4 separate regions of the Homo sapiens genome follow, and all the other regions are linked to region 3. The links are contacts of gene promoters, found by promoter capture Hi-C in blood cells and fetal thymus (Javierre and others, 2016). All regions are on one chromosome and are shown on one strand. The core of a region is centred on a gene start or on the middle of the fragment in contact, and the rest is flanking DNA. Distances in the headings are between cores, read along the strand shown. Region 1 overlaps SIPA1L1 (signal induced proliferation associated 1 like 1). Region 2 overlaps SIPA1L1 (signal induced proliferation associated 1 like 1). Region 3 holds the start of SIPA1L1 (signal induced proliferation associated 1 like 1). Region 4 overlaps SIPA1L1 (signal induced proliferation associated 1 like 1).

What was found. Contacts are between HindIII fragments. The CHiCAGO score rates a contact against its expected background, and 5 or more counts as called.
Region 1: a contact is called between a fragment that was not itself captured here and the fragment with the promoter of SIPA1L1 in region 3, in 9 of 17 cell types (total B cells, monocytes, activated CD4 T cells and 6 more). The highest score is 11.4, in total B cells.
Region 2: a fragment that was not itself captured here is called in contact with the fragment with the promoter of SIPA1L1 in region 3 in 7 of 17 cell types (neutrophils, monocytes, total B cells and 4 more); the score reaches 23.8 in neutrophils.
Region 4: a contact is called between a fragment that was not itself captured here and the fragment with the promoter of SIPA1L1 in region 3, in 8 of 17 cell types (neutrophils, monocytes, activated CD4 T cells and 5 more). The highest score is 19.0, in neutrophils.

Annotation. Positions count from the first base shown.
Region 1 is chr14:71,599,938-71,606,454 of GRCh38, reverse strand. The region is part of intron 5 of SIPA1L1 (signal induced proliferation associated 1 like 1); the gene reads right to left. Among named protein-coding and RNA genes, the nearest start is that of SNORD56B, 200 kb to the right of the region's middle. RefSeq lists an enhancer at 236-993. The HindIII fragment of the contact is 160 bases long and covers 1,397-1,556 here.
Region 2 is chr14:71,581,523-71,587,855 of GRCh38, reverse strand. It overlaps SIPA1L1 (signal induced proliferation associated 1 like 1), which reads right to left. Exons shown (of 24, transcript NM_001386936.1): 5 at 1-285. Among named protein-coding and RNA genes, the nearest start is that of SNORD56B, 190 kb to the right of the region's middle. The HindIII fragment of the contact is 6,064 bases long and covers 1-5,387 here.
Region 3 is chr14:71,317,885-71,324,051 of GRCh38, reverse strand. It overlaps SIPA1L1 (signal induced proliferation associated 1 like 1), which reads right to left and starts at 3,576. Exons shown (of 24, transcript NM_001386936.1): 1 at 3,549-3,576; 2 at 2,871-2,930. It overlaps SIPA1L1-AS1 (SIPA1L1 antisense RNA 1), which reads left to right and starts at 2,204. Exons shown (of 4, transcript NR_184180.1): 1 at 2,204-2,378. RefSeq lists a silencer at 2,658-3,677 and an enhancer at 3,938-4,097. The HindIII fragment of the contact is 21,627 bases long and covers 1-6,167 here.
Region 4 is chr14:71,620,509-71,626,951 of GRCh38, reverse strand. SIPA1L1 (signal induced proliferation associated 1 like 1) reads right to left here. Exons shown (of 24, transcript NM_001386936.1): 7 at 2,716-2,904. Among named protein-coding and RNA genes, the nearest start is that of SNORD56B, 230 kb to the right of the region's middle. The HindIII fragment of the contact is 2,323 bases long and covers 3,353-5,675 here.

The DNA of each region.
Region 1 (6,517 bases), core at 227-2,726, 280 kb before region 3:
CCCTGCCCTAGGGATCAACAGCACTTGCATCTCCACATTCCTGGAACCCCACCAACATCCCCTATATGCAGCCACTGCCACAGCAAACTGCTACCACCAGGGCTGAAGCATGGGCCACCTGGCAGCAAACCCCCTTCCTCCAGCAGAGGAAGATCACCCATTTTCACATGCCCAGACAGACTTCACGGCCTGCAGGTGCCTTTGTTGTGGGCTGCCATCACCGCGGCTGAAGCACAAGGGAAGGGCATGTTTTCCACCCGTCTGCATGTGGCTGCTGCTACTGAAAGCAATCCCGCCACCCCCAGGAGCACAGCCACAGAGCAGCCACTGCCATCCCCACCTGAGCAATCTTCCAGGGGTCTGGGGATAACTCAGCCCCTGCCCACCATAGCCAGTGTTTCATGTGCCATCAAGGAGGCAGAGGTCAAGCTTTCTCGGCCCACCATAGCCATGGCCAACACCAGTGCACACCACTTAGAACTCAGAGGGTCATCCCACTACTGTTACTGCTATCACCCCTATCATGCCTGCTTCCCAGGGCCCAGGACTCCAACAACTGTACAGCCCACTGCCAACATTACTGGTATCCAAGCAAGCTACCTGTAGCCCCAGAATTAACCTGCCAGGACCTGCTGGCACAAGTGCTGGTGTTTGCTGCCCTGAGGCCCAGACACACACAGACTCAGTCCAACACTGCTACCACTGGACTCGACGATTGGCCCACCTCCTAGGCACCAGCAAAAGTTCAGCAGAGCCTCCATTAACAACTGTACCCTAAGTTATTGAGGAAATCACAGACACAACTTATGCTGTTTACAGACAAAGACATTATACAGAGACTATACTACTACATGCACCCAGAATCAAAGTCAAAATGCCCTACCCAATCAGCACTACAGATACATTTTCAGAAAAAGTCCGTCCCCATGAAAGTAAACTCAAAAAACTTCAAGAAGCAACTGTTACATCAGATGTGTACATAGTAATGTAAGGACATAGAAACCATGAAAAAACTAAGAAATATGACATCTTAAAAGGAATAGAATTAAGTCTCCAGCAACAGATCCCAAACAAAAAGAAATATACAAAATCCTAGAAAAAGAATTCAAAATGTTGATTAATGAAGCTCAGTGAAATACAACCAAATACTGAAAAACAACACAAATATATCAGAATATGAATGAGAAATTTACCAAAGAGATAGAAATTATAAAAAGAAACAAACAGAAATATTAGAAGTGAGGAATTCATTGAATGAAATACAAAATACATTTGAAAGCAACAACAATAGACTAGATTAAGCAGAAAAAAAAGAACCTCAGTACTTGACGACAGATCTTTTGAAATAACATAGTCAGTCAAAAATTGCAAAAAAAGAATAAAAAAATGCAAAGCTTATGTGACATGAGACATTATAAAGCAATCAAATATTCAAATTTTCAGAGTCCCAGAAGGTGAAAAGAAAATCAAAGGGTTAGAAAATATATTTAATGAAATAATAAGATAAAAACATTCCAAGTCTAGCAAGAGATTTAGATATCCAGATACAGGAAGCTTACAGATCCCCAAACAGAAACAATAAAAAAGGGTCTTCTCCACAGCACATTTTGGTCAAACCATCAAAAGCCAAAGACAAAAATAGCAAGAGAAAAGTGTGTAGTCACTTATAAAGGGACCCCCATCAGACTAACAGTGGATTCTAAGCAGAAAACTTATAAGCCAGTAGAGAATGGGAAGATATATTAGAAGTGCTGGGGAAAAAAAAGAAAAAAAATAAATAAATAAACCTGTCAGCCAAGGCTACTATACTCAGCAGTTATCCTTCATAAATGAAGGAAAAAGAGTCTTTCCAAGACAAGCAAAAGCTGAGATAACTCATCTTTTTTTAGTGTTAAATTCAGTGCTAAAAAAAAATGCTTAAGTGAGTCCTAGCCCTGGAAGTGAAAGAATGATAACTACTACCAACATGAAAACACACAAAAATGTTACCACTCCAGAAATCCACCAAACTTGGCCAGGTGCAGTGGCTCCCACCTGTAATCCCAGCACTCTGGGAGGTTGAGGCAGAAAGAATGCTTGAACCTAGTAGTTTGAGACCAGCTTGGGCAACATAGTGAGACTTCATCCCTAGAAACAAATTTTTAAAAAAATTAGCTAAGGCCAGGTGCAGTTGCTCAAACCTATATTGTTCTAGCACTGTGGGAGGCTGGAGCAGATGGCTTGAGCTCAGGAGTTCAAGACCAGCCAGGGCAACATGGTGAAACCTCATCTCTATAAAAAAATATAAAAGTGAGCCAGGCGTGGTGGCATGTGCCCATAGTCCCAGCTACTCAGGGGGCTGAGGCAGGAGGATCACTTGAGCCTGGGAGGCAAGAGGTTGCAGTTAGCTGAGATCAGGCCTCTACACTCTAGTCTGGTTGAGAGAGCAAAACTTTGTCTCAAAAAAAAAAAAATTTATATATATATAAATATATATAAATATATCTATATATAAATATATATAAATATATATAGATATATAAATATATATATATTTATATATATCTTGCTCTTGCTCTGTTGCCCAGGCTAGAGTGCAGTGGTGCAATCTCGGCTCACCGCAACCTCCACCTCCCAGGTTCAAGTGATTCTCCTGCCTCAGCCTCCTGAGTAGCTGGGATTACACGCACGTGCCTGGCTGATTTTTTTGTATTTTTAGCAGAGATGGGGTCTCACCATCTTGGCCAGGCTGGTCTCGAACTCCTGACCTCGTGATCCACCCGCCTCGGCCTCCCAAAGTGCTGGGATTACAGGCGTGGGCCACTATGCCCGGCTATATTTCTTTTTAATTAGTAAGGCATGGTGGCACATGCCTGTAGTCCTAGATATTCAGGAGGCTGAGGTGGGAGGATCACTTAAAGCCTGGGAGTTCAAGGCTGCAGTAGGCCATGATCACACCACTGTACTCTGGCCTAAATAACAGAGTAAGCATCTGTCTCAAAAGAAAGAAAAAAAAAGAAAACCACCAAATCACAGTGGTAAATAACATGAGAAAGAAACCGATATATAAAATAACTAGAAATCAATTAATAAAGTGACAGAAATATGTCCCCCCTATAAATAATAACCTTGAATGTAAATAGATTACATTTTCCACAGAAAAGATATAGATCGGCTGATTTGAAAAAAAATATATATATGATCCAACTATATAATATCCACAAGAAACTCATCTTACCTCTGAAGAAACATACAAACTACAGTAATAGGATAAAAAAGGTATTCCATGGAAATGGAAACCAAAAGTGAGCAGGAATAGGTAGACTTAGATAAAACAGACTTTAAGTCAAACAAAGTAAGAGACAATGAAGGCCATTATATAAGATAGATCAACTCAGCAAAAAGATGTAACAATTCTAAACATATCTGCACTCACCACCAGAGCACCCAGATACATAAACAAAACATTATTAGATTTAAAGAGAAAGACTCCAATACTATTATAGTTAGAGCAGTGGTCCCCAACCTTTTTGGCACCAGGAACAGGTTTCATGGAAGACAATTTTTCCATGGATGGTGGGGACAGGGGACAGGCATTAGATTCTAATAAGGAGGGCACAACCTAGATCCCTCGCATGTGCAGTTCACAGTAGGGTTCATTTGCGCTCCTATGAGAATTTAATGCCGACGCTGTTCTGACTAGAGGCAGAGCTTAGGTGATAATGCTGGCTCACCTGCTGCTCACCTCCTGCTGCGCAGCCTGGTTCCTAACAGGCCACAGACCAGTGGTTGGGGACTCCTGAGTTAGAGACTTCAATACCCTACTCTCATCCTTAGACAGATCATCCAGACAGAAAATCAATAAAGAAACACTGAATTTAAGCTACACATTAGACCAAATGGATATAACAGACATTTACAGAATATATTTCATTCAGTAGCTGCAGCATACACATTCTTTTCATCAGCACATAGAACATTCTCCAAGATAGACTGTATGTTAGGACCCAAATAAGTCTCAACAAAACTTTAAAACTTGAAATAATATCAAGTATCTCCTGAGACCACAATGAAATAAAACTAGAAACCAATAATAAGAGAAACTCTATAAACTGTAAAAATAAATAGAAATTAAACAATATGCTCCTGAATGACCACTGGGTCAAAGAAGAAACTAAAAAGAAAATGAAGAAATTTCTTGAAGCAAATGAAAACCAAAAAACAATGTACAAAACCGATGGGATATGGCAAAAACAGTGTTAAGTGATAATTTTATAACAATGAGCAACACATCAAAAATAAAGATTTCAAATAAGCAATCTAATGGTGTACCTCAAGAAACTAGAAGAGTAAGAACAAACCAAATCCAAAATTAGTAGAAGGAAAGAAATAACAGATCACAGAAGAATTAAACAAAATAGAGACTAAAAACACAATAGAAAAAAATCTACAAAATAAAAAGTTGTTTTTTTTGAAAAGACAAATACAATCAATAAACCACTTGGTAGGATAACCAAGAAAAAAAAAGGGAGAAGACCAAAATAAAATCAGAAATGAAAAAAAAGACATCACAACTGATAACTACAAAAATACAAAAGATCAGAGGCACTAACAAACTAAAAAACGTACAGGAAATGGATGAGTTCCTGGACACATACAACCTATCAAGATCAAATCCAGAAGACGTAGAAAATCTGAAGAAAACAATAACAAGTTATAAGATCATGCAGTAATAAAAAGTCTCCCAATAAAGAAGAGTCTAGAACCCAATGGCTTTGCTGTTGAATTCTATCAAACTTATAAAGAATACAAATTCTCCTCAAAGTATTCCAAAAAACTGAAGAAGATGGAATTCTACCTAACTCATTCTATGAGGTCAGCATTACCCTGATACCAAAACCAGATAAGGACACAACAAAAAAAGAAAACTGCAGGTCAGTATTCCACATGAACATACATGCAAAAATGTTCAACAAAATATGAACAAACTGAATCCAACAACACACCAAAGAAATAATACACCATAACCAAGTGGGATTTATCTCAGAGATGCAAAGATGGTTCAAAATATGCAACTCAATAAGTATGACATATCACATCAACTGAATGGAGGACAAAAACCATATGACCATCCCAATACACATAAAATTGTTTGGTAAAATTTTGCATCCCTTCATGATAAAAACTCTCAACAAACTAGGCATAGAAGAAACAGACCTCAACATCATAAAGGGCATATATGACCAACCCACAGCTAACATCACAATGAATGGGGAAAAGCTGAAATCCTTTCCTCTAAGAATTGGAACAAGACAAGGATGTCTACTTTCACCACTCCAATACAGTATTGGAAGTTCAAGCCAGAGCAATCAGGTAAAAGAAAGAAAGAAAAGGCATCTAAATCGGAAAAGATGAAGTCAAACCGTCCCTCTATGCTGATGATATAATCTTATATCTAGAAAAAACTTAAGTCTGCACCAAAAAAATCTTAGATCTGGATCATTAAATTCAATAAAGTTGCATTATACAAAATCAACATCAACATAAAATTCAGTAGTGTTCCTTTACACCAATAACGAATTAGTTGAGAAAGAAATCAAGAAGGCAATCCCATCTACAACAGAAACAAAAACAAAAACAAAAAACAAGAAAAGAAAAATACCTAGGAATAAATTAAACCAAAGTTGTAAAAGATCTCTATAAGGAAAACTACGAAACACTGTTGAACGAAATTGAAGAATACACAAACATGTCCCATGCCCATTGATTGGAAGAATTATTATCATTAAAATGACAACATTTTACAGATTCAGTGCAAATCCTCATTCAAAATATCAATGTCATTCTTTGCAGAAATAGAAAAAACATCCTAAAATTCATATGGAACCAAAAAAGAGGCAGAAGAGACGAAACAATCCAGAGCAAAAAGAATGAAGCTGGAAACATTATATTACCTGACTTTAAAACATATTACGATGCTACAGTAATCAAAACAGCATGGCATTGGTCTAAAAACAGACACAAAGACCAATGGAACAGAATCCAGAATACAGAAAAATTCATATATTTACAGCCAACTAATTTTTGACAAAGGTGTCAAGAACACACAATGGGGAAAGGACACCCTCTTCCCCTCTTCAATAAATGGTGCTGGGAAAATTCTACAATCCTGTCTCTCGCTATATACAAAATCAACTGAAGATGGATTAAAGACATAATAAACATATGACCTGAAACTATAAGGCTACTAGAAGAAGGCAAAGGAGAAATGCTCCAGGACATTGGTTTAGGCAAAGACTTTATGGCTAAGACCTGAAAAGCACAGGCAACGAAAACAAGAATAGACATATGGGACTATACTAAAGTAAAAAGCTTTTGTACAGCATAAGAAAGAATCAAAAGAGTGAAGAAACCATGAGTTTAATGGGGTAAAATATTTCCAAATTCTTCATCTGACAAGGGACTAATATCCAGAATACACAAGGAACTCAACAGTAAAACAAAAACAAAAAACAAATAATCCTATTAAAACAAGTAT
Region 2 (6,333 bases), core at 1,106-3,605, 270 kb before region 3:
ACTTAAATCCCTGCAGCAAGGACCATCATATCTGTGTTTTAAATGTGCACTTCCCTTTTGGAGAATGGCTTCCAGAAAATACAACAGTTGCATGAGATCTTAATCTTTTTCATTTAAAAGGTTAAATGATGCTTTATTTGTAAAGCACTGAAAAATTGGAACTTCTAAACGTTATAATCCACAACAGTTTCTTTGCTTCACTTTAACAGAGGGCTTTCTTTCAGAAAAAACTGAATGGAACTTGTACTACTGAGATTCTGTGGTTGCCATAATCCCATGCTTTCTCTAAAAGAGAAAAGGATAATTTGAATTAGCAGATAAATACATCTAAAAACAAACATGCAATTGTCAAAACCAGACACATGAAGATAAAAGACTCAATAATGGATTAGGATTCACAGTTCCACAATCCGTATTTTTAGTAAAGCAGGTTTGAAAGAAAGGAAGAAAGTAAAAACCATTTGATAAAATCCATAATTTATATTCTAAAAAAAAAAACTATTAAGACTTCATCTTAATTGAACTGTTTCATAAAATGGGGGGCAGGGGGAGGGGTACATCTTGTTCTGGATATCATGGCTCCTACCCAAAGTACAGACTTTTGCTCCAATGACCTCTAAAAATGTAGAACATCATGAGCTACTGTGATGACCAGAAGTTTGAGATGTAACCAAGTGAATAAGATAATTAGAGCAACAGAGTTTTTTGACAAAAGTAAAAACTGAAAAATGACTTTACTGAATATGCTGCAACAATCACTTTTTAACTCCTCTATTCCAAAATCAATACATGTTTTTTGTTTCCTTACAAAGGCTTAACATAGTTGGCAAAAACAAATACAGCAGGAAAAAATAAATAAAAAGAGTTTTCCCAGAGCCATTATATCCATTAGCACTCTTTTGTATTTTCCTCTACTTTATTACTTACCGAGACGAGGATATTGCAGAATGAATCCAGCATTCACCACCACCTCTTCCCAAGCTCTCCTTAGTTTCTTGTACTCTTAAAAGCTAGAAGTATCTCACTAATGAACAAAATGCCTGCATTTCCTCATGCAGTACAACCTACTCCACCCCATCAGTGCTAATTTATGAAGACGGCAGAAACAAAACACAGCTCTGGGTGGCCCTCTCCATATCCCCAACAGATTACAGAGAACTGTTAGCATCCTTCCAGGTGACGGGCATGGAAACAAACTTCCTCATGAGCACGTCAGGCAGAAGGCAGGAGACACAGATTCTGAGTACAAAATTCTGCATGGTTGCGTACATTCTGAAAAGAAAGGCAGAGGCTCCTTTTCCAAGACTCCACAAATTACACAAGAGGTGGCCTTTAAATTCTTGCCAAATACATGTTTGGAAAGATGCTGCTGAACCAGCACTGAGCTGACAGGGCGGCATTGTCTACAAATCACGGCTCTGACACCGGAGGACGACCTGCACTTGCTGCACTCTCCACTCAATGGTAACAAGCACCTACTTCCACGATAATTAAGCATCTCCCTAGTCGGCTTCCTGCCTCCAAGGCAGGCGCTTTCATTTCTCTTGCAGCACACAGCATCACTTTAGAAGACTCGCTGCTATTTAAAGGCTGGAACATGTAGGGGTGTTTCAAAAAAAAAAAAAAAAAATGCATGCTGCCTGCAGAATGCAGGGTGAGGCGAGCTCTGGCTGGGCTCGTGCTGGCTGAGTCTGTGGAGCCATTCAGATAAATGCCATTTGTTTTCACTAGCACTCCTCTTCACCATCTTTTGTAAAAGGGATAATAGTTTTGCACTGCTACCTAATTAAACATGGCTTTTGAGCTTTCTAGATACTTCTACTGTCAGACTGCTATTATTCCCTTTACATTCCAGAACTTTACATGTTCCTCTTTCAATGATAACCCTTCAAGTGACAAAACATGCTAACTGTTGCTTCCGAGGATATCAAAGGACAGCATATATGGCCATAGCAAAGGTTCAAGAAGTGATTCTCATAAAATGGAAGGAAAATTGAACAACTGAACCAAAATGCAAACACCTGTTCAACATCTCCCCAAAAGCTGATTATTTCAATGAATACTCTACATAGCATAAATAATACTTCTAAAGTAGATTTTATAAAAATTAGATGCTTTCAACATTTCTCACAACCTCACAGAAATCCAAATAAATCATCTTTCATTCCCCAAACATTCATTCTCTAAAAGGACAACACACCAATCCCACCATGATAAAAACTCTTGCCACATTTCATGTGCCTTAGAAAATACTTTACTGCACAGCTGTCTTTCCCAGGATATGTGAAGTTATTTCCATTAGAGGAGGAAACTAAAAGCTGGCAGTAAAATACAAGAAATAAAACTGACTTGGAAATGCTCAGTCTCCACCATCAGTATTTCTCTTCCAAACCATCTCATATACTTCCAATATTTTTAATGAGTTTATAAAATCTTATTTTTAAATATAAAAATTTCTTACCAATTCAAAAGAAATTTCAAGACTCCCATTACATTATATAACAACGACTCAATGTTTTCTTTTCATTTCAAAATATAAATAAGCACATGGGAGAGAGAGAAGCCACGTTTTAATGGCTTGTAAAAACTGATGAGGTTCGAGATGGGCAATTATGTTAAATAACAGATTTTTTTTCAGTCATAAGGACCTTCCTTTTCTATGTTTTTTTTTTCTCCCTCTCATTTTCCATCTCCCTCCCTCCCTCCCTCCCTTTTCTCATTCTTATTTATAGCATCAAACCCCTTTGGGGTACAATATAAACTTTGGGCACTGACTAGCATATATGGAAATATACATGCTTTGCACTTATTAAACTACCAGTCAAAAATAATGCTGTCCATCGATGTGTATCATATGATGACAGATCAATAATACCTTCACATCTATTCCTTAGGGTTGACTGAAACAGCAAACCTATGTTGACAATGATCAGCAACTCTCTTAAATATCAGCAAACCTGCCTAAGTACCAATATGGTAAAAAGCAATAGAATTAAACAGAAGAGCAATACGAATTCACAGCATGTCACCTCCATCTGTTGAAAGAGCAGGCTATATAAAAATTTTCCTTATTACATGTTTAATTTTACAGCTCTAGATACTATCTAAGTCTATGGTAGATCCAGGTAGCTAGAATACTAATTCCATCTAGAGGGCCCACAGTTTAGTTCAATGAGTTCAATTCAACTAGTTGAAAGTCTTTTCATCACTCAAGATCTCTCACAACCTAACCCACCATTCTTCCAGAAGAAATGCTTCCTCCTCTCATCCAAATCACCCCCTGTGTTTCTGTAGTGTCTTCAGAGCATGGACCATACATCCACCAGTCCCTCCTTCAAGGAAAGCTCCAGGTGTAGCAGGGAGACACAGACAAGTAAGAAGATGACGGGGGATGCATGGGTCATGCCTCCTTCCTATACACTTTCCATTTTGATTGTAAGCTCTTTAATAACAGAGCTTACAATCTCCTGCTGGGACTAATTGTACCACAGTAGGTCAGCCATTTAGAATATCAAGTCCCTGAGAATGCTGAAAGCAGAACCTCTTATGGGATCTCTTGATTGCCAAAAATCCCTTGTCATTCTGGCTCTGTGAAGCATCTGTACTCCTGAACCCATCCTCCATCCTGAACCTCTCTTTTCTGGACCTCTGTGATAACCATGTGCTTCTTCATTTTCTCTTGCCTCTTTTTGCCCACTACTCAGTCTTTAGTTGGGGTCCATTGAAAAGGTGGTGTCTATGGTTTATCTCTCTTGACATTTTTCATATTTCTGGAAAGGGGTATAAAAGGTATTTCTATCAGGATGCATGTGAGCACTGAGTGTATTAGGATGAGACAGAAGCATGGGTCCACTGGAGTAATAATATCACTGTGGAAAGCAGAGTGTTGATTGGGCTGGCTCACATTTGTCTGTGCAGCTGAACAAAGGCAGAATAATTAAGTTACTGGCTGGAAATCTGCATGGCAACCAGTACTCTGTCTGTTGATACTGTAGGTGCCTGCAGCTTTAAATATCATCTCTATGCTGTTACCTCCAAATCTCTGGTCATGATCTTCTCCACTAAACTTCAGATAAAATAGAGGTAGGTGCTCATTTGACATCTTCTTTATTTACCTATTTTACAATGAAATAACCAACAAGCAGAATAATGAAAAAAATTTTTTTTCAAGAAATGATTAAGTGGTAAGGAAGGGAGCACATTCTATTCCTAATTCAAGGAATAGAATGAAAGAAACAACATCGTGCCAAGGGCATAAAGAGCAGTTTAAAGGTTACAAGAAGAAGATGTGGGAAGGGGGTGGGGTTGGGGGAACACTACAGTTCCTGTTGTGAAAGAATTACAGTGCAATATGGTAGGGTCACCAGAAAGATGTAGCGTTCCTCATAAAATACTTCCACATTCCAAAATGAGATCTTCTCAGATTCTTTAACTGGTACAGCCTAAAATACAACGCCAGCTCTCAATGTTTCAGGGCAGTAGAAGGAACTGTGCTGATGAATAACTATTCAAATGCCCCAATAATTCAGAGATATACACTTCAGAAGTATTTATGAAAATTTCCAGGCCCAGCACAGTGCCTTGTGCCTGTAATCCCAGCACTTTAGAAGGCCAAGGCAGGCAGATGGCTTGAGCCCAAGAATTTGAGACCAGCCTAGGTAACATGGTAATACCCAGGCTCTTAAACAAACAACAAAAAAATAGAAATAGTTTTTGAACTTGTAAACACAGACTTAGAATGCCTGTAAATATTCTTACTTCAGAATGTAATAAAACACTATTTAAAAACAGAAATATAACTTCACAGTACTTGAATATTAGATGAGCTAAGATAATCAAATAAGGCAAACTATTTTCTTTACATCCCTTCTTGGCTTTCCTGAATTCCACTCACATTACATAAAAGTTGCATCTCAGACAGAAGGGATGGCTCACTCTTTCAAGTTAGCCTGAAACACATCTTAGTGCAATGTCATGGATAATTTAAGATTTATGAATCAGCGTAAAACTTTTTAGAATGGAATTTCTACCTCCTTTCATTTCTGTATTCTCCCTTCAACAAAAAGCAGGAAGAGTTGAGAAAAACAGTTGATAAATCTAGTTCCTGCTCTCCTAATGTTCACTCTCTGAAAGAGACAACACTGATGGAAACAAAGTCGAGTCAAAAAAACTTTTGGTAAAATTAACAAAGTGAATAGAAAAGTTATAGATACAAAACATGTAACATGATAAAGCTGTATTTGAATTTAGAGATAAGAAAGCAACTTAAAATGTGCCTGTTTGGACACAGGAAGGATCAAAAAGGAAAATCACATTTCCCTCCCACTCACCCTCGTAGCTAAAAAAGTTCAGTGAAGAAAGTTACGCTTCTAAGGTTTTGTTAAGCTTGAATATAGTTTGTATAGCTGAAGGTGAAGGAAAGAACACAAAAGTTTGGCAGAAAGCTTGAGGGCAGAAGAATGATAAAGAATGCGGGAACAAGTTACGTGGTGGAATAATAATATTATTATTATTACTATTTGAGACAGGGTCTTGCTCTGTCACCCAGGCTGGTGTTTGGTTGTATGATCATGGCTCACTGCAGCCTTGAACTCCCAGGCTCAAGTGATCCTCCCACCTTGGCCTCTTGAGTAGCTAGGACTACAAGCATGCCTCACCATGCTTGGTTAATTTTTAAAATTTTTTGTAGAAACAGGGTATTGCTATGTTGCCCAGGCTGATCTTTAACTCCTGGGTTCAAGGGATCCTACCAAAGTGCTGAGATTACAGGAGTAAGCCAGTGCACCCAACCCATGGTGGAATAATTGGTAAGTAGTAAATTGATGCAACAGCTGGCAAAATGAAGGAGAACAGAAGTACATGTCAATGTTTATCTCTTACATTTAAATATGACTAATCTCATGCAATAAGCACATAATAAAATATCAAAGACCTAAGTTGGGACAGCTTAAAGTAGGAAGGGCAAAAGGAGTAAAAGGTAGTAAGTAGAAAGGTAAAAGTGAAACAGAATTATTAGAGGAAAATAGTGTTTGAGGTGTGATAAGTTATAATAACACTTTAAAGGAAAACAAACCAAAAGCTCACTAACTTATTGGGGGCATTGAGAGTTTCCATGCCTGCCATCAGGATAGCAAGAGACCAGATGAGACCGAAGAAGTAAATGAGTGTTTTTATCATAATAATTGTATGATAAAATACAACTGTCATACATTTAAAATACATTAAAAAAACTTATTCACCCAATACTGTAAATTGAACAACTGATTATCAAATCAAATCTGGTATTAAATAACTTATTACCAAATATATCTGGGGAAAGAGGAATGTGAGAAA
Region 3 (6,167 bases), core at 2,327-4,826:
ATTATTTTTCAATATCTCACAACGAAAATGGCAGGGCAGGTATTTGAAACCCAGACCTTCTGAGGACAAATTCTAGGTTACATTATTTCAAAATGTTAAAATATATTAAAATTCAAAAATAATTGCCTATTATGTATAACCTTTACGAGGGCATCAGGGTACCATAACTCCATGCCAGAAAATATTACTACAAATGGTCCCACTGGACTACAAGTTCCATGTGGCCAGGTACACTCTTGCTCATCACTGTAATCACAGAAACCAAAAGTGCACCTGCCAGATAGCAGCATTCAATAAATATTGCTTGACTCACCACTCAAAAGGTTAGGAATATAGGGATGCTATGGGGAAAAAAAGAAATTTCTGAATTTATTTTCAGATTTGAACTTCCATGATTTGATCCAAAGGGGAAAAAAAAAAGTGTGCTCTATCAGCGCTCTAGTTCTTTATTATGGGAATGAGTCTATTTGTCTTCCATAGAGAAAATCTAATATGGTCAGTGAACCAAAAGGCTCAAATCTGAGATGTCAACAAAAAATCTTCAGGATATTCATACTTCATTTGTGCACTGATACGGACCAATAACAATGATAATACAACGGTAAGGACTGATAAGAGGCACATAGTCACATTATTAATCATGACAAACTTTCCATCAAATTCCACTCTCATACCATTTCAGCTCTCCTCATGCTCCCATTTCACAGCTCAAACAGATTTTTAAAAAAAGAAAAACAGTCATTTATCTAAAAATTCAGATTGCAACTTAAGATAGAACATATATACATCACAACTCAACCAAGATCCCCCCGAAGTCTACAAAACTGCTAATCTCAAGCAATCTTCAATCTATGACTTCAATAAACTCACTAGAAAGTGTTTTTTAAAAGTTCCTAAACAATGAAGATGGGGGCACTATACCAAAATTACACACATACTTCAAAGCAAAAGCAAAGCAAATGCAGAAGCCTGAAAATACTAGTGTAAGGACAGAGACAAAAGAAGAGTTAAATGAATCTCAGTACAAAGTATCAGAGAGGTGCTTTGCAATTATTACCTGGAGTTGAAGTCAACCTTGCCATAGACTCCTCCAATGAAATCACAACTATCACTGACTGATACTTCAGATTTTAAAAGTTCACTGTACCAGAATTGCAATTTCAAACTCGAGGAGCAGAAGCAGGAACTGCAGAGAAGCTAACAACAGCAACACCTACTGACTGTCTCAAGCCACTCACCAAACTTGTTCACTCAGTCAACTAGAAAAATCAAATGACAGTCAACTTCAAGAGTCCTTTACTTAAGCATTAATAAGAAAATTAGTTGTCAGAGACATAAAGCCATTCATCCCCCAAATCTCTTATTTTGCCTCTAACCATTTATGTGGAAACAATCACTCATCATTTTAAATGCACTGTTAATTGTTAATGCTTTAGCATAATTGATTCCATGGGAAAAATGTTTTAATATTAATATTGTAGTTAATAACTGGGATGTCATCTAATAGTTGGACACATCGGTGGCCATAATAAATTAGCTGAGACCTACTGTTATTACCACTGTTCCATATTATCCTCTTTTTTAAATCCTGGTAAAGGTAGCTTAATTGCAGCTTTCAAAAAACGAAGAGAAAAATGACAGTCGTTAAATCAGGATTATATAGAAAACTAATATTATTACTAAACTGGCTGCAGAATTCAGTATGATCTAACCTTGCACGTTTCCAAAAGATTCAGTCAGAGAATCTTTGCCTTGGACGGATACTCCATAGGAGAAAACAGGAGAAAGTTGACACTTAACTCCCACAGAGTACCAGCATAAAGACAATGGCTTTAAGAGTCTGACTCAGAGTTTCAACATGAAAGGTTTGCTTTATAGAGGAAACGCCAATCCCAGTCCATCCAGATAGACCTGGAACCTGATGAAAGTCGACACCTTTATTCTGAAATTTGCATCACATCGCTGGCTCCAGTTTAGAAACATGATCGTTTCACAGGTAGTATGCATTTCAGCGAATGCTGCCTCTAAACTACCCGTCAGGAAAAATAAAATCTATAAGGTAATCGTAGTCTAGGAGCCATCAATCCCCAAATGCTTCTCTTAGAAAACGAATGCCAACAATTTAGCTAAACATCTTCCTTGGAAGTGAGCCATTTCCCATGTCTCTCTGTTCTCCAAACCGCGATGAAATTTCAACCTGCCCAACACGATTACTGGTCCACCTAGAAATGCCGTGGAGCGATTTAAGAGCCTCGGAAATTTCCTTTAAGGTCAGGAGAGAAGCTGGTAACAGATGGGGCGAAGGAGGAAAAGTTCTTTTTGCGGCACCCTCACGCCTTCCCAGCCCTTTCGCGGTTTACTCGCTCCCCGGAAAGCAGGTTAGAGCATCCCAAAATTTCATGTCCCCAAGACCCCCAAAGGGGAAATTAACCACCCTCGGGCACCGAGCTGTTCGTCTCCATTTCCCACAACTCAACCAACTCGGCCTGCCTACTCCAGCTCAGGCTGCAAAGCGCTCACCCAGGTGACTGGAGGGGAAGGGTCGCCAGGTGGCGACCAGCTCAGCGGGGTGGACGCAACCGCCCGGACCGGGACGCGGGTCTCCTGGCCTCCCGCAGAGACGCCTGCCCAGTAGTTGTGCAGATTCGGGTTCTGGGGTGCGTGCGCGCGCGCCGGGCGCGGTGAAGCCGGACTCGCCCCCGCCGGGCTAAGCTACCAGCAAGCCACCAAATCGAAAATCAAACTTTAACCGGCCTCCTGGGGTCCTGCTCCGGGCCCTGGACCCCAACCCCGGCCAGAAACAGGGCAGGGGGCTGTCAGCCGTCCTGCACCCCCGCTCCCCCCAGGACCCGGGCGCGGGGACCACTTACCGCTCGGCCCGGCCTCCCGGTGCCGCCGCGCGTCCCGGGCGCGTCCGCCGCGCGCTCTCCCTGGGGAGAAAGAGAAACCGTGTAGACGGCCGGCGCGCGCTCACTCGCCGCCTCCTCTGCGGAGAGCGGCGAGGCCGGCCCGAGGCGGGCGCCGAGCGCGGAGCGGAGGGGGGCCCGAGGGAGGCGGGGGTGGAATCAGCCCAATTCCCGAGGCTGGCTCCGAGGGGGACCCGGAATACAGGCTGGCGGGGGGCCGGCGGGGGCCGAGCTCCCGGAGGAGGGGAAGGCGGAGGTGGCCCCGTCCTTGGGCATCAACTATTGTCTAGGCGCCCGGGCCCCCGCTCGCGCCGTCCCCGAGGCTCAGCGCCCCCATCCCGCCCGCCAGCAGAAAGAACTGAGGGGGCGGCCAGTACGGGAAGCAAGTGCGGGGGTCCGGGCTCCGAAGGTCCAAGGTGGGCGCGAGGTTGCCGGGGGGGGGATGAGGAGGTGCGTACCGCATGGGGGAGGGGACAGGTAAGTGCGGACGGGGGCGGGAAGGCCCCAACGACCGGTGGGGGAGGAAATGGGGAGGGAGCCACAGAGGCGGGAGGGAATGGAGTGGCTGCGGGGGCGGCCTCTGGGGCCCAGACCTGGCCCTCCCCGGGGACCCTCCAGCCGGGGACTCGGCGCTGCACTGACTTTTCGCTCACTCGCTCACGCACGCACTGAACTCGCTCACAAAGTTGCCGGCAGTGGCGGCGCCTCACTCGCCCTTCCCCTCCCCGCCCCGCCTCCCGCCCCATTCCTTCCCCTCCTTCACTCCTCCCTCTCCCCCAAGTCTCGGGTGAGATCACCACGGAGCGGCTTAGCGCGGCGCACAAGTCTCGCGAGAGAAGCGGCGGCTGGGCCCTGCAGGCGGAGGAAGTGGAAAAAGTCGCGGGAGGGTAGGGGACCGCGGAACTTCTGGTTGCTATGACGACGGCAAAGCCCTGGATTCCTGTCTCCTGCGGAGAGCAGAGGCTGCAAACGTGGGTGCAGTTTTCAACCTGCCCGGCGCACTGGCGGTGGGGAAAGCTAGGGGTGGTTGCGGAAGGATAATTTTTAAGCCGATTCAAGAGGGCATCTCGAGAGGACCACAGTCATGATATCTGGCCAAATTTGGCAAATGAGACTAATGTATTAAGAGGTTCTGGGACAGGTTTCTGCCTTTCTAGGCAGCACATATCTGCACCCCAAATTTCTACTATATATTCAGTTTTTCGGCCTTCTCTTTCAATCTAATTCCTCCATCCCCACACTCCCCATGCTGCCTCCCTCCTCCTCTTCTCAACTCGCAAACACACGCAGACTGGGCTCCTTCAGGAACTGGCTCATTCATCTCTGTATTCTCAGCGCCTCTATAGGCTTGGTCCATACTACATATTGGCCACTTTTTTGACAAGTTGAACGCAACAGTCCATGCCTGTCCTCAGTACTTGCCTTTGGCCCTAACCTAGAGAGTTCAGTCAAGTTTGGACTCTATCAAGCTACCCTCCCATTTCTGTTAACACCTTGTCTTTTTCAATGGTAATAATCTCTGCTTTCTCCATATTTTTCTCGTAAAAACCCTATTCACCATGGTGAGGGGAACTTTTTTTTTAATCATTAGGCATCCGCAGACGCCTTTATACGTACTCCAAAATGCTAGTAAGGATGAAGATGAACTCTCCTCAGCCCGTGTCTTTTAACTGTAGAAACTTTTCTGAGGTGAGGGTTATTATATACTCACTGCCTAAGTAAAATGGATATTATGAATAGAAGTTAAACTTTAGATTTCAAAATGAATGAGTAAAAATAGATACCATTGTATGTGGATTATATCTCAATTTTTAAAATTCCTATCCATGAACATGGGGAAACCATTATTTAACTCAGTCCCACAGAACTAGAAACCTAAAGCATAACCTAAGCATATGAGGACTAGGCAGTCAAAACTTGTAAGTCACTTGCAAGTTTAAATCCTGTCAATGAAAGTTTGTGTATTAGAAACCTAAGTGATACTAGACAAAGTCAGCAAACTAGGGTTTACGTTTTTCTGTGCCACTAATAATTGAGTCTCCTTGAGAAGTTATTTAATCTCTCTGATTCTTCATCTGTGGGGGGTACCCCACATGTTAGGTTATTACAGCTTTAAAATTCTATAGCTGGCCGGCATGGTGGCTCACATGCATAATCCCAGCACTTTGGGAGGCCCAGGTGGGAAGACTGCTTGAAGCCAGGAGTTTGAGACTATCCTGGGCAACATAGAGAGACCCTGTATCTACAAAAATAAAAAATATTAGCTAGGTATACTGACATGCACCTGTAGTCCCAGCTATTCAGGAGGCCGAGGCTTGAGAATCACTTGAGCCCAGGAGTTAAAGGCTGCAGTGACCTCTGATCACACCACTGCACTCCAGCCTGAGCAACACAGTGAGATCCTGCATCTAAATATATATACACATATGTATGTGTGAGTATATATATATATATATATATATATATAATTTAATATAAGAGCTCTTAGACCTATAAAATTTTCCAATAAATAACAAATCTTCCTTTTACAGCAAATGATAAAAAAAGTTTCATCTTATAGTAGGTCAGTTTCACAAAGAGTAGCTATATGTTGACAATTTTCTTTAAATGTTGACAATTTTATTTTAAAATTTATCTTGTCCCAACTACAAAAACAACAAAAATATTGACCATGTTACAGTAATTTCAAAGGTAATCTATAGTTCATGATTTGCTTTTACACTAACTCAAAGCAGATTCCTTGTTATTTAATAAATACTCTAATTAAAACCAAAGACCCAAACTAAATACATCCATACTCCCAAAATAACTATAAGGAAAGAGGGAGGGAGGGAGGAAGGAAAGGAAGGAAGGAAGGAAGGAAGGAAGGAAGGAAGGAAGGAAGGAAGGAGCGAAGACTAGATCTGTGGAAGGAAGGAAGGGAGGGAGGGAGGAGGGGAAGGACGGAGGGCCTCAGATTCATTTACTGGTGTGTTTAATATCACATTTTCACAAAGAAACACAATGGAACATCACCATCAGTCCTGTGAATCTGTTTTAAGGAACCATTTTTCATAACATTGCAAAATATTATAAATCAGTTGTTGCTCATTTGTTCTGGCTTAGCTTTTAACATAATTTTGCCCTTAAAAGATGGCTGCCAATCTACATCCACCAACGCAGTACAATTTCAGGACCATCTGTTTTATGACTCCCAGATAGCCATTTGAAATAATTGACCCAAATGCTAGCCAAATCTATTAACATTCTTCAGTGCTTCAT
Region 4 (6,443 bases), core at 3,265-5,764, 300 kb before region 3:
TTTATATTTAATAGATAAAATTTTAATTTTTCTGTTCACTTTAGCTTTTGATAGTGGTAAAATGAGGAATTAAAGCACCAAAGATTTGAAAGGCAAAATGCCACAATATAGGAAATAAATTGTGTCTTCTTTTACAAAGCATGGTTATGTAAGACAGTTAATAAAAACATAAAATATATTAAAAGAATCATTTAAACCAAATATAAAAAGAGATTTAAAGCTCCTTCTGATGAGTCCAGTTTCCTTGTATCACACTATGAATCTCTTTAAATATAACGACACACAAAGCTGGAAATTTTAAAATATGACGACACAGATGGAAACTAAAAATGCTTTGCAATGATTCATATGCATAATCCACTGCACTTATAAGCATTTCCTTTTTAAAATCTGTATTTGTAAAGGCACCAAAATAATCAGTTTCTCAAAATAATTCCAAGGCATTAATGAGATTTCCTACCAAAAAAATTACTCCCAAGACTAAAAGCCTAAGTATGCATGTCGTCTGCTTTATCTCAGTACAATCCAGGCTTTGAATGCTGTATGTATGGAGATAAAAAAAAGACAGAGGCTAACCCCCGGTGCTCTTTAGTCCAGACATGGAGCTGTTCATATAGAATAGCATGCTTTGAACCTCTAGATTCCACTGTCTAGTAAAAAACTACTGTCTAATAGTAATACTCCTGTTGAACGGGATGACATATTTAAGGCACTTACTTTCAAAGTAAAATTGAAGAGACTGACTGATTGCCAAATTTTAATTTTGCCTAGTAAAGATATTAAAGAAAACAACTATCATATATTATGATTAATAATTTATGAAGGAAGGGACATTTTAATGCTTCCAAGAATAGGAAGGCCATAATTTCAAAATAATGGCCAGTTTTGTGAATTAAATAAACTTTGAGTTCAACTCTTTATAGTGTTCTTATCTTTCCCATGTGGATAGGACTATAAAATATTTATCACAGATCAGCACCGTCTGTGATCCAGCACTTGGCATCACTAACAGAGGACATAAAATGTGTCAGAAATCCCCATAATGTCTACAAGTAGAGTATCCATTTTTATTTAATATAGTTAAAACAAAAGAAAATGGCAATAACTATCTCCTTTACATAAAATAATCTGTTTTAATAGAAATTTCAAATGTTAAGTATATGACTATATTATCAATGTCTAAATGTTTTTATTCTCCTTGATAAACACAGTAGTAGAAATGACCGAATCAATAAAGTTGGACCTAAACATCATTTTTCTACTCCTTTGTTAGAATAAATGTTCAGAATATTACTGGAAAACAGCCTCCAAAATAGTTACGTTTATATGTCAGTAGTCTTTTGAAGAATTCAAAGGGCAACAAATTTTCACATTATGAACATGGATACTCACAGCATTCTTCAGATGTATGTGTCAAATAGATATTAGCTGTGCATTATGAAAAGTGAAATGGATAGAAAAAGGCAAAGATTAGAAAAGAGACACCTGGCCAGGCGCAGTGGCGCATGCCTGTAATCCCAGCTACTCGAGAGGCTGAGGCAACAGAATCGCTTGAACCTGGGAGGCAGAGGTTGCAGTGAGCTGAGATTGCGCCACTGCACTCCGCCTGGGTGACAGAGTGAAACTGTCTCCAGAAAAAAAAAAAAAAAGAGAAGAGAGAAAAGAGACATCTAACTATTGCTTCATTATATATTCTCAGTGGCTGAATTAAAACAATAAATATACCTTAAAACTGATTTTTTGGACTCTCATTCATTTTAATAAAATTTGAATTTTTGATTAAGGAAATCCTATCCAAATCTGGTCACAAAATGACATTCAATAGCTGGACCCTTCTGTGAAAAATGAACATAATGGGGAAAAAAAATAAATAAACTACCTGAACCAATTTTATTTTTGGAGTAATTTTTAAATGTAATGTTAAAACTACTACCACCCACTACTAGGATGCAATATGGCTAAAATGCTAAAAGAAAGAATTAAAGTAAGAGTATATAAATATATTATCTATAAAATTGGCCCATATGCTCAAATTACTCTAAGCAGAATGTGAAATTTTACATTTTTATATTTAAAAATCTTGGCTAGAATATATCTTTGGTGGTACTAATAGACTTTGAAACTCTAAGCTTTTAAGAACAGCGCGGTGAAGTGGCACAGACTTTGAGGCAGACTATGTTTGCACCCTGGTTCCAAAACTTACTAACTGTGTGAAATTGGATTTATTACTTAATCTCTCTGTGTCCCAGAATCCTTCTCTCTAAAATGTGAATAATAATAGTACCTTTCTCACAGTGTAGGGAGATTAAATGAGATAACATATTTAAGGCACTTAGAAAAGGGGCTTGCAAATATGCTCATTATTATTAATTACTGTTATTACTGTATTGTCATTAACACAACATTATTATGATTACTGCTATTATTTATTCTTGGACACTCGAAAAACTTACCGTACATATGGAAGATTATCAAAAGAATTTAACGTAGTTTAAAGTGCCTTATTTATAAATTCTGACATGCAGAATTTCATCAGATGAGAAATGTTCAGAGTTCAGAGTTAAGAAAAAACAAAATGAGTAATTGCAAAGAGAGTGTCTTTCACAATAAAAAGTATCAATTATCTCCATCAAAACAAGAAACATTAAGGTCTGTATTCCGGAAGCCTAGCAATAAACCTGAGCAAGAATGCTCTCCTCAGAAAGGCAAACTCACCCCTTGTTCATCCAGTTTCATGAGCTGCTCTGTGACCTTGGGTGTGTTGAAGGCCAACCGCAGGCACTGGACATTGAGCTCAGGAACCACGTGCTCCAGCACTTCTTTGAGAGGCAGGCCTCTGGCTGTCGAGTGCTTGGCTGTCGACGGAATGGCGTCCTCCAGGACCGAACCTCTCAGTGTCATGAGCTGCAAGAGAGACAGGTGCTGTGGTGAGGCTTCTGGGATGTGAGATGCCTGAACACATGTACATGCACTGCAGGCCTGAACTGTGGGGCTCCTCACAGAGCTAGGGAATGATTTTTGATGGGTAAAGCCAGTGAGGGAGAAAGAATGAGAAAAGTGATGTAGGATACTGTAATATGAAAAATGAAACCAATGCTTTCAAGACCAGGGTGGGTCCAAAGGAGCACATAATCAAGACTTCTGAGGATATTTATTTAAAGACAAAAAATAACATTTCCTTAAAGAGATCAGTAAAGATCAAGGTCTCTATATGGCTATACCATGTCACTATGCATACTAATTAGGAAATTAAGAAGGCAGAACCCCAGAGCAATGTCTGAAGAATAAATACTTAGAATTTGGATGTTATACTTCTTTGAATTATAAAAAGGGGGAGATAAAGTTTTAAGCTTCATAAGGCATGGCTGACAAGCATAAACTATTCATATTACCAAATGCTGCTGCCACCGGACAATTATCACCATCAGTACAGCAGCACAGGCAATAGCAGCTGAAATTACTTTAGATTTTCTCTTATTTCTTAAAATACCTTCCCTTCTTAAAATACCCTCCATTAATACCTTAAGCAAAGACATTTTCCTACGTAATGATGTTGTTTTCAGAGAAAAGTTAACCAGACATGAAGCCTAAAGTAGTCTTAATTTCCAAAAATGTCTACAAGGCAAAGTTTTGTTAACCTAATTTAACTGCTGCATGGGGAAAGAAGAGAAAACCCATCAAACTGAATACATTTCCATTTAGCAACAGGAGCTACAAAAGCTAGGAGTGCAAGTTGAGGATTGTCAAATATGAGGGTGAGAGGTCAGAAAGACACACTGCAATCTCAGAAGGACAAGTATACCCAACAAAGTATAACAAGGTCAGGACCTCAGACAGTCCAAAGGCAGAGAATGGACCACAGTGGCTCAGGGCATAAAGAAAGGCCCCACTGAAAGGAGGGGTTTTAGGAAATGGCCATGAAATAGAGGAACAATTTCTACAAAAAGAAAATGTCAAGAGACAACATGAGCAAAGGTATGGAGATTGGGAAAAAAGGGAGTAAGTGGGAAGGAGTGATTATTGTAGATGGACACAAGGAGAGTACAGGGAGAAATGGATGAGGCAGCTGTGAGCTGGGGGTGCACAGAAGACCCTGAAGCTGACTGAGTGGTACACGCCTCACTGGGCTCCTACAGGTCAGCACAGGACGTGTTCGTAGGGGGACGATGTATACTCAGAAATTAAGCTGCAAATAAGATGAACTGTGAGAGGAAGCAACTGGAGGCAGAGAATGTAGTTAGAATGAGTACCTTTTTTCTTTCATTATAAACAATTTCTTTTCAAATAACAAGTAAAAATCATTTTCCTATTAATGTATAATTTGACACAAATAGTTTTTATTTTGTTTTTAAATCATGGAAAATCGTTAACTCAGTTATTTGACTGTTTTCTTCATGAGATAATACATAGCTTGAAATAGGGAGCCACAAAGGCTAGGGGTGTTCTCAACTTAGAAGCCAAGACCAAATTCAAGCCATTGCATCCTGAGCCATAGAAAGCAGCTAACTCATGAAAGCCAAAGCAGATGAGAAAAAGAATGGCTCATTTTTTACATCCGAATCACTAGTATTACTGATATTTTTCTTAATGACTTCCAGAAATAAGAATGGAGTCCTCATAAGTCCTCGTGTTCCTATGCTTAAAAACACTCACATGCCATAAAATTTTGCTCATAAACAAACTGCCATGCCTACAAAGGTATATATCTTCTTTTATGTTTTGCAATGTTTATTTATACTAAAATGAAAGAGATTTGTTTGTATTTCTGTTATCTTGCTGCCGCTTACTGAAGCCACTAGAGTGTCACTGTCATGTTTTCTTTTTTCTTATCTGCATGAGAAATTAGTAACATGAGAAGTCCCTGATACAAATTAAGTCTTGTTTCATTTGTAATAGGTAAATGGGCTTCAGTGAAAAAAGTGAAGGAACTATCTCTCAAAGTGCAGGAGCTACAGACAGGAACCAATATCTGGAAACATTTCTATCAAAAGTCTTAATACAATATTACCATTAAATCAAATTTATGGATTATTTATTATTAGAGAGAAAAAAATTATACAAAACCTAGTGGCAATTAATTACATAAATATTAGCGGGAGGAAGGAAGAAAGGAAGAGAGGAAAAGGAGGAAAGACATGGAGAAAGGGATGGAAGGAGACAGGCAAGGAGGGGAAGTGAGAAACAGGGAGGCAAGGCACCATTTGAGGAATCGGGCACGTTGTACTGAACAACTCGGACAGAAGCCCCCACCCTCCTGGGGCCTGCATTCTAGTGGGAGAGATTAAAAGCAAACAAAATGACTAAGTATAACAGAGAAGACAGTGTTAAGTATTAATGAAAAATAAAGCACTGAATTGGATATGAAATGGGAGGGGAATAGAAATTTTAGATTCAGCGGTCAAGGAAGGCCTCTGTGGTTTCTGAGTAAAGGCCAAATGGAGATGAGGCAGCCTGATGCAGAACACAGCAGTGGGGAGGAATGACGGGCATCTGAGCCCTGAGGCAGAGGTGTCCTGAGGTGGCCCAGGTAGGAAGGAGGCCAGTGTGGCAGGAAAAGACTGAGCCAGGAGGAGTTATCAGGGATGAGGCGCAGAGAGATAACCGGGAAACAGAAGAGCATGGTCTCCTAGGCTAGCAAAGACAGTGGCTGTTTCTCAGAGGGAGATGAGGAAGCTTTCAAGGATTTCGAACTGAGCAATGGCAAGATCTGGAATGACATTTCAAAGGAACCCTGTTGGGTCAAAAGGAGGCAGGGCTTCAGCATAGAAGCAGGGAGAACAGTTCTCAGAGCAAGACCAGGACCAGGACTGGGTAGTGAGGGTGGGAGAAGTAGTTGAGCTCTGGGCATATTGTGAAGACAAAATGAACAAGTGTTGCTGACAGACCAGATCTCAGGGGCAGGAGGGAGAAGATGGGAATAAAGTGTGGCTTTAATGGTTTCTGGCCTGAGAAAATACAGTAATAGAGTTGTCATAAAGTGAACATTAATTTGAACGTAAAAAACAAGTGGTAATGGTTTTTTTGAACACTTGACTTGAACCTTTCAGTCAAAGGCTAAGGAAACAGACCCAAGGGACACAGCTTATTCAAATGGCTTAGCTGGAGAAGAAGAGAATCTTATGACTACAGAATTCAAGTAGAACATTTCGGGTCAAGGGAGTAAAGCAGAAAGAAAAGAGGTGGGAAAGGTAAGAGTTGGTGTGGTTCACAGACCAGAGCAGAATTTAGGACAGATAGGTAGGAGACAGGGGCTGGGATCAGATGTGGAGAGCCTGCAAGACATGCTGAGAAGGGAAGCTCGTGGAAACCAGTGACAGGATCTGCTGAGAAGGGAAGCTCATGGAAACCAGTGACAGGATCTGACTCAGAAAGAATCATAGGAAACTTTAACCTCTGGCATGAAGGATAGGATGAACAAGTGATAAGGAAATGAATTTAGGTGG